2 separate regions of the Homo sapiens genome follow, and region 1 is linked to region 2. Evidence: promoter capture Hi-C in 16 types of primary human blood cells and fetal thymus (Javierre and others, 2016). All regions are on one chromosome and are shown on one strand. Each heading gives the region's core, a stretch centred on a gene start or on the middle of the fragment in contact. The rest is flanking DNA. Distances are from core to core; before and after follow the strand shown.

Evidence for each region. The method cuts DNA at HindIII sites, captures the fragments that hold promoters and counts their contacts. A CHiCAGO score of 5 or more calls a contact.
Region 1: a fragment that was not itself captured here is called in contact with the fragment with the promoter of RAB40A in region 2 in 1 of 17 cell types (total B cells); the score reaches 6.1 in total B cells.

Annotation. Positions count from the first base shown.
Region 1 is chrX:103,758,349-103,765,295 of GRCh38, forward strand. No RefSeq gene overlaps it. Among named protein-coding and RNA genes, the nearest start is that of PLP1, 15 kb to the right of the region's middle. The HindIII fragment of the contact is 177 bases long and covers 2,683-2,859 here.
Region 2 is chrX:103,513,658-103,521,329 of GRCh38, forward strand. It overlaps RAB40A (RAB40A, member RAS oncogene family), which reads right to left and starts at 5,832. Exons shown (of 3, transcript NM_080879.3): 1 at 5,713-5,832; 2 at 3,717-3,868. It overlaps LL0XNC01-250H12.3 (a long non-coding RNA gene), which reads left to right. Exons shown (of 6, transcript NR_188440.1): 6 at 3,991-4,286. The HindIII fragment of the contact is 4,467 bases long and covers 4,907-7,672 here.

The DNA.
Region 1 (6,947 bases), core at 1,521-4,020, 240 kb after region 2:
ATTGGCTTTTTAAGATGTCTTTTCAGACTTTTACATTTCTGACAACTGACTGGATGACTCCACCTGGAACAGCGACTCCTCTGTGGTCCCAAGCAGAAGTGGACTCAGCACATAAGGACCATTTTCCACAGCCCTATGATTGTCTCTTGAATATCCATATCTGTATTCTTCCTATTCCCATTTCCTCTTTTGGCTATAAGGTTTACTGCTACCAGTTTTTCAAAGGGGAGGGAGTAGCGGGACAAAAAAGCAGGTTGATAACTGCCAGAGTTCACACAGAACCAAACCATCCTTGAAAAACCTTACCCTTCAAATTTTCAGGGAGGCTGATTAGACTAATAATAAAACTCCAGTCTCCTGTTTAGCTGGCTCTGCATGTATTAAACTTTCTCTATTGCAATTCCCCTGTCTTGATAAATTGGCTGTATCTAGGTAGCAGGCAAGAAGAATGCCTTGGGTGGTGTATTAGTCCATTCTCACACTGCTGTGAGGAAATACCTGAGACTGGGTAATTTATAAAGAAAAGAAGCTTAATTGACTCACAGTTCTGCATGGCTAGGGAGGCCTCAGGAAACATACAATCATGGTGGAAGGCACCACTTCACAGGGATGCAGAAGAGAGAATAAGTGCAAACAGAGGAAATGCCAGATGATTCTAAAACCATTAGATCTCATGAGACTCACTATTACAAGAATTGAATGAGGCAAACCGCCCCCATGATCTGATTACCTCCACCTGTTCCTGCCCTTGACACATGGGGATTATGGAGATTACAATTCAAGGTGAGATTTGGATGGGGACACAGAGCCAAACCATATCAGGTAGTTATAGCTTCACTTGGGACTTTGACATTTGTCTGGGATAGGATGAGGATGGAGCATGGACTAGTTCCTGAGGGTGAGATTAGGGAAAATGCTGCCAAGAAGACACTGGCCAGGAGGGAGCCGGATGCTAGTAACTGAGACAAGAAGCCTGCCAACTCAAGCCAGACCTTGGGCTATTGGAATGTGGGAAGGAATTAAAGAACGAAGATAACAGCAATATCTATTGGATTTGATAAGGATTAATGCAAGTGAAGCACTTAGTACAGAGCCTAGCACACAGTAAGTACTTAACTAATGGCATCAAGCTGCAAACTCTATCATCTCTGTCTTTTAGAGGCCATAATGCATGTTAGCATAGTGGAGGTTTTGTAAAGTCTCCCAAGTAGCTGAGACTACAGGCGTATGCCACCACGCCTGGCTAGTTTTTGCATATTTAGTAGAGACGGGGTTTCTTCAGGTTGGTCAGGCTGGTCTTGAACTCCCGACCTCAGGTGATCTGCCCACTTTGGCCTTCCAAAGTACTGGGATTACAGGCATGAGCCACTGTGCCCGGCCAAAAAAAAATCATTATTTTTTTTTTTCCTTGAGACGGAGTCTCGCTCTGTAACCAAGGCTGGAGTGCAGTGGTGTGATCTCGGCTCACTGCAAGCTCCGCCTCCTGGGTTCACGCTATTCTCCTGCCTTAGCCTCCAGAGTAGCTGGGACTACAGGCGCCTGCCACCATGCCCGGCTAATTTTTTTTGTATTTTTTAGTAGAGACGGGGTTTCACCGTGTTAACCAGAATGGTCTTGATCTCCTGACCTTGTGATCCGCCCCCCTCAGCCTCCCAAAGTGCTGGGATTACAGGCGTTGAGCCACCGCGCCCTGCCGAAAAAAAATTTTTTTTAAGAGTCAGTGTCTCACTCTATTGCCCAGGTGACAGTGCAGTGGCATGCTCCTAGCTCATGGCAGTTTTAAACTCCTGGGATCAAGCAGTCCTGCTTCAGACTCTTCAAGTAGCTAGGACTAGAAGTGCGTACCACCATGCCTGGCTACAGAGACACTAAAACAAACAAACAAACAAACAAACAAAACAAAACAAAAACAAAAAACTTTGGTTAACCCAGGCTTCCCCAAATATATTTGCCTGCAGATTTTTTTTTTTTTTTTTTTTTTTTTTTTTTTTTTTTTTTTAACATTAGACCTTTCACCATCCAGTGGAGATGACAATCTCTGGTCATGCTTTGGGAAACTCCACTCTCCTTCCAGTGAGGGGCTCTAGTAACATTTGTCACTGCCTTAAAAATGTTTCAATTTGATGTCAATTAATACTTTTTTTTTTTTTTTTTTGAGACAAGGTCTGTCTCTGTTGCCCAGGCTGGAGTGCAGTGGCATGATCTCAGCTCACTGCAACCTACACCTCCTGGGCGCAAGCCATCCTCCCCCTTAGCCTCCCGAGTAGCTGGGACTACAGGTACGCACCATCATACCTGGCAAATTTTTGTATTTTTTGTAGAGACAGGGTTTTGCCATGTTGCCCAGGCTGGTCTTGAACTTGTGAGCTCAAGCAATCCACCCACCTTGGCCTCCCAAAGTGCTGGGATTACAGGCATGAACCACTGGGCCTGGCAATACTTTCTTTCCTATTCATTAGCTCCTATTTGGAGAAGAAGTTGAGGGAGGTTCTCTTTAAAAATAGAGACTGTATCATCAGGGCTGCTGGGGAAAGGGAAAGAGACATTGTATCTTTGTTGGAATTTGGGCTTTCTAAGAGGAGGAGTAGAAACTATGCTGGTGGTTATGGTGGTTGTGGGATGAACAACAGGATGGATGTCCAGATGGACCAAGTCAGCCCTCTATTGTAATTCCTGGATGAAAGCTTGAAGGACCTAATCTCAAGAACACCAATGATCCTACTGTCCTCCTATATATATGAACAGAGATGGGAGGATGTTCTCTGGTTATTTAATAAAGGCCAGCCACAAACAAGGCACCATACTAGGTTTCATGCGCGTCCATGTGAAATCACCAAACAGGCTTTGTGTGAGCAATAAAGCTTTTTAATCACCTGGGTGCAGGCAGGCTGAATCCGAAAAGAGTCAGATAAGGGAGATAGGGGTGGGGCTGTTTTATAGGATTTTGGTAGGTAGTGGAAAATTACAGTCAAAGGGGGTTGTTCTCTGGCTGGCTGGGGTGGGGGTCACAAGGTGCTCAGTGGGGGAGCTTTTGAGTCAGGATGAGCCAGGAGAAGGAATTTCACAAGGTAATGTCACCAGTTAAGGCAGGAACTGGCCATTTTCACTTCTTTTGTGATTCTTTACTTGCTTCAGGCCATCTGGATGTATATATGCAGGCTTGGGCTCAGAGATCTGACATTCCTGTCTTCTTATATTGATAAGAAAAATAAAATAAAATAGTGTTGAAGTGTTGGGGCAGCAATAACTTTTGGGGGGTGGTATGGAGATATAATGGGCGATGTTTCTCAGGGCTGCTTCAAGCGGGATTAGGGGAGGCGTGGGAACCTAGAGTGGGAGAGATTAAGCTGAAGGAAGATTTTGTGATAAGGGGTGATATTGTGGGGTTGTTAGAAGAAACACTTGTTGTATAGAATGATTGGTGATGGCCTGGGTGCGGTTTTGTATGAATTGAAAAACTAAACGGAAGACACAAGGTCCGAATAAGAGGAGAAAAACAGGTATTAAAGGACTAACAATTGGGAGGACCCAGGACATCCAATTAGAGAGTGCCCAAGGAGGTTCAGCATAGCCCTGCCAGTAAAGATTATTTATTTACTTTAAGAGGGAGTTAAGAGTGGTGGGCGGTTTGGGGATAGCACCAGGAGATATCAGCTGTGATGGCTTGGAGAAACAGTGTAAACCGGCAGTGTAAACAAGAGCAGGGCATGTATGAGTAGTTGAGAACGGTGAATAGGATTATGACTAGACAGAAGATAGTAGGGATGACAAGTTTTTGGGGCACAGCCCAAGTTGGGCTGGTGTCTGGAATGAGACGGGGGCCTAATAAAAAGGAGTGTCTATACAGGAGCTCAAATGGGCTGTAACCTGTAGCATTCCGAGGACAGGCCCGAATTTTGAGAAGGGAAAGTGGTAAAAGTATTGTCTAGTCATTTTTTAGTTGGTGGCTGAGCTTGGTGAGGTGCGTTTTTAAAAGACCATTAGTCCATTCTACCTTTTCTGAAGATTGAGGATGGTAAGAGGTATGAGGGTTTCACTGAATACCAAGAGCCTGAGAAACTGCTTGGGTGATTTAACTAGTAAAGGCCGGTCCGTTATTGGACTGTATAGAGGTGGGAAGGCCAAACCAAGGAATTATGTCTTACAGAAAGGAAGAAATGACCGCAGTAGCCTTTTCAGACCCTGTGGGAAAGGCCTCTACCCACCCAGACCAAGAGGTATTTTAGTTTCCTGACTCGAGGCATGTGAGTAAAGTCAATTTGCCAGTCCTGGGCAGGGGCAAATCCCCGAGCTTGATGTGTAGGGAAGGGAGGGGGCCTGAACAATCCCTGAGGAGTAGTAGAATAGCAGATGGAACACTGAGAAGTGATTTCCTTGAGGATAGATTTCCACGGTGGAAAGGAAATGAGAGGTTCTAAGAGGCGGGCTAGTGGCTTGTAACCTACATGGAAGAGGCTATGAAATGACGACAGAATAGAATCGGCCTGTGAGGCTGGAAGGAGATATTTTCTTTTTTTTTCTTTTTGTTTTTTTTTTTTTAAATAAGAGAGATTTTATTTTATTTATTTATTTTTTTGAGACAGAGTCTTGCTCCTGTAACCCATGCTGGAGTGCAGTGGCATGATCTTGGCTCACTGCAACCTCAGCCTACTGAGTTCAAGGGATTCTCCTGTCTCAGCCTCCTGAGTAGCTGGGATTACAGGCACCCACCAGGAAGGAGATATTTTCCTTGGTTCAAGAACCATTTGCCTTGTGTGGGAAGAGATTGATAGGTGGAAGTTTCAGTAGGGGAGTAGGTAGGAGTGACCGATGAGAAGGAGAAAAACTGGCCTTGAGGGACGAAGTTGTACTCTAGCTGCTTTTTTAGCTACCTTATCAGCATAAGCGTTGCCCTGAGCGATGGGATCTGACGCCTTTTGACGGCCCTTGCAGTGAATGACTCCAGCTTCCTTTGGAAGTAAAGCAGCCTTGAGAAGAGTTTTTATTAAAGAGGAATTAATGATGGAGGACCCTTGCGTAGTGAGGAAACCTCTTTCTGCCCTTATAACAGCATGGTGGTGCAGAATATAGAAGGCATATTTAGAGTCAGTATAAATATTGATGCGTAGTCCTTTTGCAAGAGTGAGGGCTCTAGTTAAGGCAATGAGTTCGGCTTGCTGAGAGGTAGTGGAGGGGGGCAGAAAGTATGTGCATCTGGTGTGAGGAAGAAAATAGATTTTGGAAGTTATGAGAACTGTAGAGAGTGAGTTGAGCACAGTTTGTGATTTTGAGGGCCTCTAAAAGTATTAAAACAGAGGCAGCTGCCGCATGCAGACATGAGGGCTAGGCTAAAACAGTAAGCTCAAGTTGTTTGGATAAAAAGGCCACAGGGAGCGGTCCCAGTCCTTGTGTAAGAATTTCGACCACACAGCCCTGCACTTCGGCTGTGTGTAATGAAAAAGGGTTGGGATGAGTCAGGGAGAGCTAGTGTGGAAGCATTCTCTAATGCTGTCTTCAAGGAACGGAAAGAGGAGTGGGAAAAGGATTTAGGATCTATGGCATCAGCTAGGTTTTCTTTTGTGAGTTTACATAATGGTTTTGTTAGGATGGCAAAACCAGGTATCCAAAGGTAAAAGTATCCAACCATGCCCAGGAAGGAAAGGAGTTGTTGTTTTGTAGAAGGGGTTGGGGTTTGAGAGATCAGTTGGACAGGATCGGCAGGGAGAGCACCTGTGTTTTTATGAAGAATTATGCCGAGATAGGTAACAGATTAAGAAATTCGGGCTTGACTGAAGTAATGGGGGCTGTCTGTGAAGCCTTGTGGCAGTACAGCCCAGGTAATTTGCCGAGCCTGATGGTGTCAGGGTCAGTCCAAGTGAAAGCGAAGACAGGCTGGGATGAAGGGTGCAAAGGAATAGTAAAGAAAGCATGTTTGCCACACAGAACAGAATAATGGGTTGTGGAGGGAGGTATTGAGGATAGGAGAGTATATGGGTTTGGCACCATGGGGTGGATAGGCAAGATAATTTGGTTGATAAGGTGCAGATCCTGAACTAACCTGTAAGACTTGTCTGGTTTTTGGATAGGTAAAATGGGGGGATTGTAAGGAGAGTTTATAGGCTTTAAAAGGCCACACTGTAACAGGCAAGTGATAACAGGCTTTACTCCTTTTAAAGGCTGCTGTGGGATGGGATATTGGCGTTGAGTTGGGTAAGGGTGATTAGGTTTTAATGGAATGATAAGGGGTGCATGATCGGTCACCATGGATGGAGTAGAGGTGTCCTATACTTGTGGATTAAGGTGGTGAGATACAAGGGGAGGATGTGAAGGAGTGTTTGAACTGGGGAAAAGGGTGGCAATGAGGTGTGGCTGTAGCCTAGGAATAGTCAGGGAAGCAGATAATTTAGTTAAAATGTCTCAGCCTAATAAGGGAACTGGGCAGGTGGGGATAACTAAAAAGGAGTGCATAAAAGAATATTGTCCAAGTTGGCACCAGAGTTGGGGAGTTTTAAGAGGTTTAGAAGCCTGGCCATCAATAACCATAACAGTCATGGGGCAAGGGAAATAGGCCCTTGAAAAGAAGGTAATGTGGAGTGGGTAGCCTCCGTATTGATTAAGAAGGGGACGGACTTACCCTCCACTGTAAGAGTTACCCAAAGCGTATGTGATGGTCCAGGAAGCTTCTGAGGTGATTGGGCAGCATCAATCTTCAGCCGCTAAGCTGAGATGATCTGGGAAGGAGTCAGTCAGAGAGCGTTGGGCCAGAGTTCCAGTGGCTCTGGGAGTGGCTGCCGGGTGAGTTGGAGAGTCCAATTTCCAGTGGGTACCTGCACAGATGGGGCACAGCTTAGGAGGAATCCTGGGCTGTGGGCATTCCTTGGCCCAGTGGCCAGATTTCCAGCACTTGAAGCAAGTTCCTGGTGGAGGTGGTCCTGGAGGAATGCCTGGCCACTGCGGTTTATGTGTTT
Region 2 (7,672 bases), core at 4,582-7,081:
TTTACAGACATAGATGTGTAATAGCATGAATAAAAGTTGGGAAATTATGCCTGGACAATGGGAAGATATTTCACATTCGAGATACACTGCAAATCCCAGCTACTTGGGAGGCTGAAGTGAGAGAAACACTTGAGCCCAGGAGTTCTAGGCTGTAGCGTGCTGTGATTGTGCCTGTTAATAGCCACTGCACTCCAGCCTGAGCAACATAAGGAGGCTAAAGAGCTCCTGTCTCAAGAAAACACACACACACACACACACACAGACACATTGCAACATTGTTTTGGGCTGGCTGTCACCTGGGAAACTCTTAAGACTTTGAACACATCACATTTTTTTTAAATGACTGAAAAATGATATGTACCAATTCTGTTAGTGCTCTCTATAGCATGTAAACTGGAAAAGTGGTGTGTCTGGTTTAGTAGCTCTGAAAGACAGTACACATGTAAAGAGGCATATATGGCAGGTCACAGTGTTGAGATATGAATGGGTATTTGTTCTTCTCATGTTTCTTCCTTTCTCCTTTCCGTCAGATAGCCAGACAACTACAGATAAAACACGCAACAAAATAACACCATATTTCATGCAGAAATATATACATATGTAACAAAGGATAAATAGTGAAAAGTCTAAATGCTTGTTAATGATTACTCCTTTGTAAGAAGGAGGCTAATGCAAGCTGAAGAAACTTTGAATTTCTTTTTTTTGTTGTTAAGACAGGGTCTTACTCTGTCACCGAGGCTGGAGTGCAGTGGTACAATTATGGCTCAGCACAGCCTTGACCTCCCTGGCTCAGGTGATCCTCCCACCTCAGCCTCCCAAGTAACTGGGGCTACAGTCCTGTACCACTATGCTCAACTAATTTTTGTATTTTTTTGTACAGATGGGGTTTCACCATGTTGCCCAGGCTGGTCTCAAACTCCTGGTCTCAAGTGATCCACCCGTCTCAACCTCCCAGAGTACAAGGATTACAGGTGTGAGCCACTGCACCCAGCCCAGACTTTAAGTGAATTTCAGTTGTACATATAATGGTTTATTTCTTAATATGAGTATATACAGTATATTCTTTTTGTAAGTTTCTTTATGTCTAAAATATTTCAGAACAATAAATGTTTCTATGACTAGTTCTGATTATAAAAATGATTTGTATCAATTTAGAAGTTGTGAAAAATATAGTTATGTCCAGAAATAAATATATAATTAATCAAGTAATCCTATTACTCATTAACTTAAAAAAAGAGTATTATGTTTGTATATTACCCCCATTATACTCTGTATGTATGCATCATAATGTACATTCATTGCATGTGAGTCTAATATATTGAGACATTCAAGATTTGCCAGACAGCATGAAATGAGTTATTAAATGATTCCAAGTTCAAACTAAACTCTGACTCTCAAGTCACCATCCCTAACCATTGGGATATACAATCTTTTTCTGAATAAGGGCTGTGTCCAGCTCAGGGAAAGTGTCTTCTAGACAAGGACAGGTCTGGCATTCAGTCCCCAGGTCTCCTGTTCAGTCTGTTGTACAGAATACTCATCTTTATGCTCTTTTATTCTGTACTGCCTCCTTTCTGGGGTTGAAACAAAGGTTTCTATTCCAGTGTCAAAATGGAAGGTAAAAAGGAATAGAAGAACACATCAAATAAAAAGTAACGAAGTGATTATTTGATCCCAAACTTCCACCATTCTCAGGTATCTCATCCACAAAGAAATGTCACCAAAGGTTCTATAACATATGAGTATGTTTGTTTCCTTTCCCAATGTTTCAAATTTAAATAATCTCTGTGGGATGTTCATGTTTAAGTCTTTTGAGGAAGGGAAAACAGAGGGGAGACCAAATATATATTTATTGAAGTATTATGTATCAGATGGTTTCTTTAGTTTTGCTCATTTCTCATAACACTCCTGTGAGGTAAATAGCAATATGCTAATTTTATTGATGAGCAAGGTAAGGTTCACTAAGTGTAACTCACTACCATACCATCATACAATAGAAAAGAGTGAGTACTCATCCCTCATCCCAACTTCATCACATTGCATAGCACAGAGATGGCACCTAACCTCCTACATAATATAGATGAGTGTGTGTGGTTCCCTTACATTCCCAAATACTCACTAAAATATAGTGATGCTATCCAGATTATGAAACAACATCCCTGTTAAAGATCAGAAGAGGTGAGATGGGAAGGAAGCAAACACTGGCACTGTGAATGACACACCAAATACCGTGCCAGCATCTTGACAAAGATCTCCCCTTGAACATGTCATAATGCTCTCTTGAGTGTAAGGATCAGGTGTATGTGTGTTTGTGGTGAAACATGCAAAACAATACTATGTTTTATTTAGGGAAGCTCTCATATGGAATAAAAGGATAAAGCAACATATGGGAATTATAATCATTGCTTTCTGGGTGCTGATTATCTATAGCAGAGACGGAAGGAGATACAATTAGGGAGGAGTAAAGGTTTTCCTAAGCTGGACTAATTTCATAGTTCTCTCTGTTTTTTATCTGAAACATTTCACAAGTAGCAGAGGTTTTAGGGGATATAGTTTTTATCATAAATACAGACATTCCCTGACTGTTGATGTTTTGACTTATAATTTTTCAATTTTATGATAGTGTGAAAGTGGTACACATTCAGTAGAAACTGTACTTCAAGTTTTAAATTTTGATATTTTCCTGGGCTAGCAAAACGCAGTATTATACTCTTGTGATGCTGGTTAGGGAGCAGCAGTGAGCCACAGCTCCCAGTCAGCCATGCAATCACGAGGATAAACTACTGAGACCCTATAGTGTACAGTGTTGCCAGGATTTTTTTGATATTGTATTTTCACATCTCATCTTGTCTACAAATGCCCATTTTTGACCTACAATTATTTTCAACTTACAATGAGTTTATCAGGATGTAACTCCCATAGTAAGTCAAGCATGGGGTATGGAGTATGTACAATCCATACTCTCACCTTAGCAAATGTTTAATATTGAGCCAAATGCAGAGGTTAAAAATATCAATAGCCAGCAATCCCATCATAATTAAAATTAACATGGTACTAGATCTTTCTAAGGATTTTTTATACATGGATATATGCACATGTACTGTACATGCATTACAAATACAATTCATAAAGCTGTTATAATTATATGTACAGTATAGCATCCTGGGTTTTTTGTTGTTATTTTCAGTTTTGCTTTTGTCTTAAGTACTAACATGTGGATGAAACATTCTAAGTACATGACAAGGTATAAGATATAATCTAACTTTGCTTTTTAATGAACCCTTTACAGCTGGCCCAGACCCAATTCCTTAACAATGCATTTGAGTAGAAATGCCATACTTGCAGCATCTTAAATGACGTTATATGCCAGGGTCTACTCAAGAGCTTTCTTTAGACTTCTTTAACCTGCATGTCAACCACTCTGTCCAAAACTTATGAAATTATACGCTCAAAGAACACTTTAATACCTGGCAAAGTAATCCCCACTTTTATCATTCAGTCTTTGTATGCATGATAGGAATAATAATAAAAGACATAAATAGTTACAGGGCACACGGTAGATAAATTGGTTGATACAGATCATGCAACCAGCAAGTAATGGTTATCAGGGTCAAATCCAAGTCCTTCTCACCCAAAAGCCCCCTCCCCTAACCACTATTTCTATACTGAGTATCCTTCTGTGTTAGACCAGAGGCCAACAGAGGGAAGAGACTCACCCCAAAAACCACAGTCAGTTGATGGGTCGAGTAACTAGGGTACAAATCTGATGACTCCTGTCTTCTGTCTAGCTGACTCATTATTATTCTTTGCTCTTCTGTACTATTTCTTCCTCCCATGGCTCAATAAGAACTCCTTCACCCACGTCACACTAGAAAGAAAATAAGAGAGCAGAGAGTACATGGAATCAAAGGAATGATAAGATAAAACCAACATTCATTTATTGCTACTATATTTCTAAATGCTCTCTGTTTCAAATCTTCTATTTCATAGGGCACAATTATTTTATCTTGGAACCAACAATCTTCGGAGAATGTATCCCAAAGATACAATTCAAAAAGATAAAAAGGCAGAAGCACAAGGTCATTCTTGGCAGAACAAATTGTAACAGCAGAAGACTGGAAATAAGACAGATGTCCACCAATAAAGGACTGACTGAATAATCTAAGGTGCATCTACATCCTAGATTTCAATGCCGGTATAACAAGCAAGGAAGATTCCCTCTCTCTGCTGCTATGTAGTGATTTCCAGGATATACCATTAAGTGAATAAAGCAAAGTGCAGAAAAATGTGTAGAGCTGCTGTTGTCCCATACCATACCCACTGGCCACTCATGGCTATTTAAGTTAACTAAATTTAAATGGAATTTTAAATTCACTTCCTCAGTCACACTCACCACATTTTAGGTGTTTAATAGTCACAGGTAGCTAGTGGCTACTATGTTGGACAGTTGAGACATAGAATATTTTCACCTTTGTAGAAATTCTATTGGACTCCACCAGTGTAGAATATGTCACCTTATATATATGGAATAGGAGAAAACTAATAGAAACATTCTATTTGCTTATATTTTTAAAATTGGAAAGTTTTAATGAAAATTGATTTAAAAAATCATTACCTATAAAGAGAAGGAAAAACAGCCCAGGACAGAAGCCAATAATGTCTTTTCCCTTAAAAATATAATATATATACACTGGCTCCATGCACTAGAAAGGTGAAGAAACATGATAGACCCAGTAGCAATGAGCAACTCTAGTGCCCATATTGAATCCACTTAAAACACATCACACTGAAAGGAACTAGGTTATCTTAGAGAAATGACTGAGTTTAGGTCTGTGTAGCCATTCTACTAGATGAATCTGGACCAAACTATCATGCCAGAGAGTGCGTCAAAAAGACTCAGAAGCCAAGCTTAAGGGGCTCTCGCTGGACAAAGATGAAGCAATTTGAACATTAAATAAAATAATGACTACTATGGATTAAAACACATTATAATATAAAAACTTCTACAGCTCATGATGACACTCTAAAAGAAAAATAAAATAAAACAAACAATATCAACTCATTGCTTGCCTTTGGAGAACCCTAGGGAAACAACTCATTGTTTTGAAAAGTGGAAATATTGCAAAAGAATTAGGCACTCATCCAACCCTTTCTATACATACTATCCCTCAGTGTAACCTAATGGTTTATGAAAGTTTATTTAATAGAATAATTCCAGCTAATAAAGCAGAGAAAATTATAGAATTAGAATATCATCCTTTTATGACCTTTAATGAATATAGAACTAAGCAACAATCCTTAGACGCTGCAGAAAAATCGAGGTGAAAAAGGGATGGGAAATTTTATAATGGATGGATCAGCTTAACAATACTTGAACATAGTAATTAATCTTAACATCACAAGAGGAGAGACAATTAGACACAATGAGCCCCCTGTGTAACACTATAGGAATAAACAATACCACATATGAAGTACTTCTGACCAAAACAAATCTAAATTGAATCAAGCCTCTGAATCTAACACCATTTTGTTAAATTTTTTTATTATACTTTTAAGTTCTGGGATACATGTGGAGAATGTACAGGTTTGTTACATAGGTATACACGTGCCATGGTGGTTTGCTGCACCCATCAACCCGTCATCTACATTAGTTATTTCTCCTAATGGTAATATAAAAAGAGAAAGAAATACTTGGAATTTGATTTGGAAAACCTTTCTCCTGTAGCCAGTCCACCTCCATGTGCTTGATACAGTTGACACTTCTTACCCTACAGGAGATTATTCAGCCTATCAGCCAATCTAGAAAATAAAATCATGAGGATCCATGTTTGGTGGTATAGGAACTATTAAGTTTATATTGGAACATTTTGCAAAACATGTTAAAATTAAGTTAAAATGAATGTGGCTCGAAATTAGGATTGTAAGATTTCGGATTTCAACTCAGTTTCCACAGAGAAGTTTGGTTGACCTAAATTTTAAATATGTTAGGAATAAGCCCCTGCTGCACATCATTATATTCAAAGTTCTCTGTAGCTTCATTTGTGAAAACAAATGGATGAATGGGTATATATTTGTAAAACATGTCTTTGGGATAAAAAGGCATTTTGAGTTCTTGGTTTTCAGGATGTTCCTTCTGGTATTCTTCAAATAAATGCTTCTATAGTATTATAAAGATAATTTCATTAACCTGCTAAAATGGGAATGTATTTGTCTATAGCTACAAGGTAAAAAGTGTTATGAATAATAATTTTAAGATGACAGATATTAAATAGTTCAAATATTATTGATAATAAGATTTTTTTAAAAAAGAAAATATATGTTCATCCAAAAGAATGAACATGAACATTCATAACACCATTATTCATGAGATGTCAAAAACTGGAAAATACACAAATCTCCATCACAGATAAATATAGTGTGAAATATCCAAATAATATAATACTTTACACCAATGAGAATAAGCAATCTACAATATAGACCACAATAAATATTAATTTCACATACATTATGTTGACTGAAAGAAGCAAGACACAAAAGAGCACATGCTGTATGATTCCAAGAATTTCTCTTCTAACCTCCCAATAGAGATTGGGGCAGGAGAGGAATATCAACAACTCATTTCCTTTTATTTCAAGGTACTTAGTGTCTTTTTATGTTATCTGTAGCTTAACCTCAGATAAGTGAAGCAACTTTCTTCTGAGCCCTTGAAAAGTGATTAATTACACATAAGATGAAAAGCTAATACTATATCTGATGGACAGGCAATGTGGTGTGAGAGATTCGGGCAAGAATCCTAAATGGATGCTCAGTCTGCACCAAATCACACCGCAGTCACTGAGTCACCATGGTAACCATTCTGGCCAAGGAAAGCTGAGAAAAAACAAACACCACTATCCCGAGCTTGTTCCTAATATGTACTAGGAACTAAATAGGATTGACATGATGCACAGTAATTAACCTCAAGTAGTCCTTACAATAAAAATTCCTGACAGCTTCAGTGACATACAAATGTATACATACTCACATACATATATGCTTGCTCACCCTCTCACCACTCCAAATTCCAAGAATTTATTGAGGTTGATTTACTGGTGGGTAAAGAAGTAAATCTCGCCAGGCATGGTGGCTCGTGGCTATAATCCCAGCTACTCAGATGGCTGAGGTAGGAGGATTGCTTGAGGTTAGGAGTGTGAGAGAAGTCTAAACAACATAGCAAAACTCTGTCTCTGAAAAATGTTTTTAAGTTTAGCTGAGCATGGGGGCACACACCTGTAGTCAGTTATTCAGGAGGCTGAGGTGAGAGGATTGCTTGAGCCTGGGAGTTCAAGGCTGCAGTGAGCTATGATTGCACCATTGCACTCCAGCCTGAGCCACACATTGCAACAAAATCATTTCTGACCACACATATAAAGTTGAAAGCTACTAAACTATGTTCTTTTGGTGTGATTTCTGAAGATGACCTGTAGAATTGTCTCTGGAACATTTTCCTCCATAGTTTCAATATATCGCCAATGACTTGTAAAAGCAGATACGGAAATACAGGTAAACACAGGTTAAGGATCAAATACCTTTTCCATCCTAGAGTAAGCTGTGCTTTCAACCAAAAAAATGCCTCACTGATGTTAAACACTTGGTTGCTGATAGTACTGTGAAAATATAGTAATTAGCAATT